Regions from separate parts of the Homo sapiens genome. Here region 1 is linked to region 2. The links are contacts of gene promoters, found by promoter capture Hi-C in blood cells and fetal thymus (Javierre and others, 2016). All regions are on one chromosome and are shown on one strand. Each heading gives the region's core, a stretch centred on a gene start or on the middle of the fragment in contact. The rest is flanking DNA. Distances are from core to core; before and after follow the strand shown. Region 1 holds the start of CNOT4 (CCR4-NOT transcription complex subunit 4). Region 2 holds the start of SLC35B4 (solute carrier family 35 member B4).

Region 1 (3,376 bases), core at 142-2,641, 1.2 Mb after region 2:
AAGCCTCAATACAGAACCCACACATAACCCACATGTAATCAAAATATCACTTATATTTGCTAGCGGAGTTCACAGATGAATTCTGTATGTGCGCCAGATTTATCTTATTTTGTAATGCTGGGGTTAATATTTATTGGTATAAATCAGGGCCCACACTAAGTGTCCTGGGGAGAGGCAATCCAAAGAACGCTTAGTAGCATGATAAAACCGGTCCAAAACGAAAAAAAAGAAAAAAAGCCAAGTCCTAACACAACAGAGCGAATAAGCGACAAATAGATCACAGAAAGCAAAACGAAAACGGTCCTCTCCGGAGTAGCCTGAATAAAAGATCTTCACTCATAACGTTTAATAGTATCCTACCTCACTTCATTCACTTCCCAACTTCCTTTTACTTTTCAAGGGCCACCACGGGGCTTCCCTTTTTCTGGAAGTGTATATTGAAAGGATCTGTACAGGAAAGAGGGAAGGAACGGACAATTCTCAAGAAGGCTGAGAAACAGGTGGGTTAGCAGGAGGAGCATAATCTAGATACTTAAGGGGCAGCTTTAAGATGACAGATGTGGTGGAAGGAAAGACTGCAAATCGGAAGCAGCTCTAGTGTGGCAGATACACTGTGGGCTGATTGCAAGCACCAGAGGGGGGCAAAGGCTAACTCCAGAGTGGTAGCAGTGGAGCAAAAAAACAAGCAGCAGGACGAGTGGGCAATGAGCAGTGGGATTAATGAGCAGCAGCAGCCAACACGGATCAGAGTGGAAGTGATGGCTTTGGTCTTGGGAGACGGGGGCCAGAGGGAAAGGACGTCAGACAGGGAACAGGGGATTGGGGAAACAAGGAGGGCTGAGACCTAAGAATCCTGCCCCGGTGAAAATGCAGGGGGAAAAGCTGGAGACCAAAAGCCGCCTCGGCTCCCCAATTAAAGAAATTCTCGAAGGAGAGTCGCTGCTTGCCGCCGCGCTGCCTTCTGACCCGCTCCCTTTTCCTTATGGTAACTGCTGTGGCGTAAAGGGGAGAGGGAGGAAGAGGAGGAGGAGGAAGAAGACCAAGGAGGAGGAGGGTGAAGATGAGGCGGGGGGTGGGGAGAAAGGGGGGTGCGGCCTGTACAGTCCCAGCGAAGCCTCCGCTCTCTCGTAGCCGGTCAGCCCCGGGTTTCCCCTAAGCCCAGCCCCGCATAGACTCACCCGCCTGCCTTGCCTCGCTTTTCCCTCAGCCGACTCCACGGGCTGCCGCGTCCTCACAAGAAACCACCGAACGAGCGTCGGGGAAAAAACTCTTCAGAACCGGGCCTGATTGCTTCAGCGAGTCCGACCTTTACGGCTGAGAGAGAGACTCTCAGCTTTCGGTGGGTTCCACAGCCAGACGGGCCACCATCTTACATTAGGGTAAGACTCCTCCGGCCTCCCGTGCGCAGGCGCACGCTGATCCGGCCAGGAGGGGCGGGGGAGGGGCGGGAGGAGCGGCGGGCGGCTGAGTGGGAGGTTGCGGTGGCCGCTCCCGCAGCACCCTGGGAGTTGAAGTCCTCGGAGGGTAACCTCCCAGGGGCACGCCGGGAGTTGAAGTCCTCTCTCAGAGGGCGGAGGGGATCGCCCACCTCACGTGGCTGCTGGACTGATGCCTTTCTTCGTGTTTTGCTTCCTTCTCTGCACGCGTGTGCTGCTTCAATGTCATTTGGTCGGCGGTTTTCACTAGTGATTCCGTGTCCTCGGTGTTTGCGGAAATGTGCTACCCCAAGACTGGGGCGAGGCTAAACAGTTTTTCGGGGAGCCCGGAATGTTTATTCTCTGCCCCGCCCACCAGGGATATCTAAAGGGGGCGGGGTGGAGGTGGAGGCAGGTTGTGGGTACGAAGAGCGCGGGATTTGATCCAGGGTGAGAATTTGATACAGACTTGGCGTCTGTTTGCGAACAAGGAGGAAACAGGCGCCTGTTTAATTCATTTCCCTGTCCTTGCGCATTTGGGGCCACCACCCTTGATCCCTTCTTCACTGTAAAATCACCAGTGAAGACATACACTAAATTGTTCTGTGCAGATTACCCAAGAGAACGGAACACCCGTGCACTTACAATAACGTGCTTCTGTTGGTGTGAATTTGAGAATTTGCGGACCTCGGTGCAAATTAGTGTTAGTTCGGTGTCCAGCCAGCACAGCTGTGTGCAAGTTTACAAACTACACACATCGGCACATCCCCAAGAACAATAAATGCAGCCACAATCCCTACGAGCACTGAGGAATCATCAGTCACAAAAGTCAGTCAATGTACTGGTCGCCCCGTTTGCATCCCAGAACTCTGGTGGAAGTGGCGCTCGAAGCAGTAACTTTTGCTTATTGCATGTATTCTTCACCCACTCATACAGCAAATACTCAATGAGCTCCTCCTAGCTGCCGGGTACTCTTCTATATATTGAGAATACAATGGTGAGCAAAATAGAAAAAATTCCCTGTCCCTATTCTAGTGATGTGTTGGGATGAGGAAGAGGAGAGAAGAGGCATTATTTTAAAAATACGTGATTAAAATGCATAGTATGTCATAACCGATTTTAAAAACTTAAAGCAGGGAAGGGGAGTAGGGAAAGAGGTTGCAGTTTTAAATTTACGAACTTAATTTCATAATAAGCCCTCAATTCATTGTTTTTTCTTTTTTTTTTTTTTTGAGACGGAGTCTAGCTCTGTCACCCAGGCTGGAGTGCAGTGGCGCGATCTCGGCTCACTGCGACCTCCGCCTGCCGGATTCAAGTGATTCTCCTGCCTCAGCCTCCCGAGTAGCTGGGATTACAGGCACGTGCCACCACGCCAGGCTAATTTTTATATTTTTAGTAGAGACAGGGTTTCACCATGTTGGTCAGCCTGGTCTCGAACTCCTGACCTCAGGTAATCTGCCTGCCTCGGCCTCCCAAAGTACTGGGATTACAGACGTGAGCCAGGGCACCCGGCCTCATTCTTTTGGTACATTGGTTTTCTGTGTTTCAGTTTCCTCACTATAAACCTAGAGACAACAGTTACTTGGGTAAAAATTAAAATATGTAGTGAAGTCACATTTTACCCAAAGTTTGAAATTATAGAATCATGAAATGATTACCTAGCAAGGAAACTTGGGAAATTATTTGGATTTCCCTTTAGGTAATTAAATGCCTAAACATTCAATATGGTTGACATTTTTATTTAAAAATGTGTTTATTGTTCTTGTATATATTACTGATTCTATAGTAGTATATAAACAAAGTAATGAAAAGAACAAAATAAAAAGAAGCCTTCCCATTATGAAAGATTAGAATCATCACAGTAAAAACTGGAAGGGATCTTAAGCATCACCTAATCCAGTGGCAACCTTATCTTACCCAACATTCCTTTTTTTAATAAATGTTTTTATAATATGCTCTTT
Region 2 (3,869 bases), core at 605-3,104:
TGATATCAAATAAAATAAACTTCTAGTAGGCACCACATGAAGAACTGGATGACCAAAATCTATGGGCTGCTCAAGTTCAAAACTGGCAGGGAGGTTGAAAAAGGTATTGGACTAGGAGCTTAGATATCTTGGGTCCCATTTCTGGCTCTGCCACTTACAAGTAGTGAAGGGTCACCTAACTTCTTTGGACCATTTCCACTTCAGTAAAACAGTTTATAATTCTTGACCAATCTTCTGCACAGGATTGTTCGGATGATCAACAGAGATACAAGTTGAGTATCTCTCATCTGAAAATCTGAACTCTGAAATGCTCTAAAAAATATGAAACTTTTTGAGCACTGATATGATGCCACAAGTGAAAATTCCACACCTGACACCTTTGCTTTCTGATAGTTCAACGTATACAAACTTTAATTCATGTACAAATTATTAAAAATATTGTATACAATTACCTTCAAGCTAAGGTTATGTGTATAAGGTGTATAAGAAACACAAATGAGTTTGTGTTTAGATTTGGGTACCATCCGTAAAATATCTCATTATGTATATGCAAATACTCCCAAATCCAAAAAAAAAACAAAAAACAAAAAACACCAAATAACACCCGTTCCCAAGCATTTCAAATGAAGGATACTCAACTTGTAATGTATAGATTCAGAAACACGAGCTAGAGAACACTATAGGTATTGTTTTACTGCCAGGAAAAGGAGCCCAAGAGAGGCTAAGTGACTTGAAGGGCTACACAGCCAGTGGACGACGGAGCCAAGAGTGAAATTCACAACCCAGCTTTTTAGTCCTGGAGGCTTTTCCACACCACCTGTTGTCTCTTCTGTTATAGCTTCTATCCACTGAACTTTGCACATTCAAAGTGACCTCAAAGAGCCCTCTCAGGTCACTTGGACCAATCTTCTACTTGCTTTTTTTTTTGTCTTTTTGCAAGCCACCTCAAAGAGCACTCTCGGGTCACGTGGACTGATCTTCTACATAAAAATCTGTTCTACCGCATCATTTATGTATGTTTGGGCAAAGTACTCATAACCATTTCCAAGGCCAATAAAGCAAATGCTTTGCAGGATGCCGTAATAAAAATAAAACTTTCTTTGCAGTATGTACAAAGTCAGACTGCTTTACAAGTCAAAAACCTTTGCTCAAGTCCAGCCTGTGCCATTTAACAGGATCGAAAAAAGAGCTAGAGTTGGATGGGAAGGAAGAGAGAGTGGTTTGGTGAAGGAACCTTGGTTCTGACACTAGCTCTCTGCCGACCTTGGACTGGTCATGTGAAAAACTCTTCAGACTTCAATACCCCCCGAGTGTGGAAAAGGGGTGACGACAGCAACACCCTGAGTCTTCCCCTCGCAGGAATGCTTTGAAACTGTTAGGCGGGACTGCCGCCGGTGCGCAGTTTTGGGAAGCAGCGGACTCAGCGGGGTCCCAGGCTGCCCAGACAGGACGGATTGCTGGGGGGCTCAGGCCGTCCTGCCCCGGGCTCCGTGGGCGGCGGGGTGGGGACAGGGCGTGGGCGCGTCCCGGGGGGACCTCTCCTCTGGCTTCCTCCGCCCCGCCCCGGGAGACCGGGTGCGGCCCGAGCGGGTCACTCACCGGGCCAGGAGCTCTAGGAAGATCACGTTACTGCAGCAGCCTGCGAACACCAGGCCCACCGCCAAGGCCGGGCGCATGGCCGGTGCAGGGTTGGGGAAGCAAGCGCACAGAGTAAGCGCCCGCCTGTACCGCTACCCCAGGAAGCCGGCCTCCTGCCTCTTCGCTGCGCAGCACATCGCACCGTCCTGGAAAGCCGCTCTCACTGGGGGCCGCCGCGGTCTCCCCTTCTCCCGCGGCCAACACCGACGCTGCCAAGAAGCTGTAGTTCGCAGTCAGCTTCGGTCCCATTCATCCGAGGGGGCGTCCGAGCCCCGGCCAGACTACATGTCCCAGGATGCCGTGCACCTTTACCTCAGGATGCGACGTTCCCGCTTCCGCCAGGCAGCTCCGCCAGAGAGGACAGGGGGACGAGGTGCCCGGCATGACTCGCGCGATAGGCGGCCGCGGGTCTTGCTGGGAAATGAAGTCCCAAAGCGTCAGTGTTTCTTGCGAGACCGCCCAGAGCGCTGAAAGTAACTCGGCCGCCAGGGTCACAACAAACTTGCTGGCAGCGGCGGCACTAGAACTACAGAGCTGTGACTGCTCGTTGGAGGTGTTCTAGCATCTGAAACAACTCTGCTTCCTGAACTGATATATATATATGTATCTTTGGTGACTCTATTATGCTGCCAGGATTAAGAACCACTGAGAATTCAAGTAAAGCAATGGCTCTCAACCACGTCTGTACATTGGAATCACTTGGAGAGCTTTAAAGATGACTGATAGCCAAGTCCCACCCCCAGCGATTCTGATTTAATTAGGCTGAGGTGCAGCCTTAAAGGTGATCTATTGATATTATCCCTAATCCTAGCTCTTTAAGGTACTCCCTTCCTTTACCTCCGTGGTTCTCAAACTTAGCTGCGCAGTCAAATCACCTGGGGGCTTTGAAAACTGCCAACGTCCAGGCTCTTCTACTGGCAAAAATGCCAATATCAGCAATCAGATCTTTAATGGTGAAAAGAAGGCATACTTCCCTCTTCTTACAGTGGAATTCTCATAGCACTTACAATCTGAGCCATTCGACTTGACTCTTACTTACTCAATGAACAAATGTTTGTTAAGCACATATTACGTACATAAGCTAGTGCGGCACTATTCTTTATTTGTAAAATAGGTATGCACACTTTATCCACCCAGCAAGACTAGTTTTTAAGGGAAACGTGTTTACACTTCCTTTCTGCTTCCCAGTGTCTACTATAAAAGGTTAGCATCACTGCTCAGTATTTTACCACATCAAATATTTCCGTTGTAATTGAATCCAACAGCAATAGCAAAGTACACGGTACAAAGCTAGGTAGGATTTTGGAATGCTATATTGTTTTTGCTATTTCCTGTGAGACACGAACATTCTGAAGTCTTTCTCGAGATCTACAAAATAGTTTGGAATGCTTTTTTCCCAGTCCGTGACTGGGAGATCACATTGGAATCATCTGAAGTACTCGTTATCGAGTGCAGATTATTGGGTCTCGCTTTAGACCTACCAAGTCAAAATCCTTGTGTATGGGTTCTAGAAACTTGTATTTTTAACAAGCACTCCACGTTCTAATTCTAATGCATTCTAGAATTTGAGAACTGCTGCCTTAAAAAGGTGAGTAGGAAGAAGAACTAACATAAATAGAAAGCCTACTACCTGTGAAATTCAGTATTTAATGAGCACCCGTCTTGAGTTTGCACAGTGCTGGCACATTAAACAATGAATTATATATACATATATACACGTATATATACCAGTTATATTCATATACACATATATACACACACACATATATATATATATATAACTGGTATATATACAGGTATATAATAGTACCAGTTCTACCTCAGACCAAGTAAAGTGGACTATCTGGGAGTGAGGCTGAAGCAATGATAATATCTCCACCTCCACTATCAATAATCCTGCCAACAGGAAGCTGGTCTGGATTTTCATCTGGATTTCATTAGAGGTGATTTCTCTTCACACAGACCTTCATTTTCCATATATGCCACTAATTTGGAAGCCCTTAAAGGATGTTCTAAACATTTCTCATTACATCTCAGATAAAAACCCAAGCATGTCTAAGTGATTGCACAAGAAAAAAATGGCCTGAGTACTGTAATATTTGCAAGAGTTCTGTATCTTTCTTCCTTCCTCCACATTTCTGTCTTCACCTACTGCAGTGAGTATTAATTTAATGTGCATGTTAATCACTTGGGGATCTTGTTAAAATGCAGATTCTGATTCACTAGGCCTG

Evidence for each region. Contacts are between HindIII fragments. The CHiCAGO score rates a contact against its expected background, and 5 or more counts as called.
Region 1: the fragment with the promoter of CNOT4 here is called in contact with the fragment with the promoter of SLC35B4 in region 2 in 1 of 17 cell types (non-activated CD4 T cells); the score reaches 7.3 in non-activated CD4 T cells.

Annotation. Positions count from the first base shown.
Region 1 is chr7:135,508,711-135,512,086 of GRCh38, forward strand. It overlaps CNOT4 (CCR4-NOT transcription complex subunit 4), which reads right to left and starts at 1,392. Exons shown (of 12, transcript NM_001190850.2): 1 at 1,179-1,392. RefSeq lists enhancers at 462-1,367, 1,138-1,337, 1,368-2,272, 1,648-1,767, 1,918-2,087 and a silencer at 1,338-1,577. The HindIII fragment of the contact is 7,472 bases long and covers 1-3,376 here.
Region 2 is chr7:134,315,076-134,318,944 of GRCh38, forward strand. It overlaps SLC35B4 (solute carrier family 35 member B4), which reads right to left and starts at 1,855. Exons shown (of 10, transcript NM_032826.5): 1 at 1,600-1,855. The coding sequence starts at 1,676. RefSeq lists a silencer at 1,396-1,565 and an enhancer at 1,646-2,375. The HindIII fragment of the contact is 10,331 bases long and covers 1-3,869 here.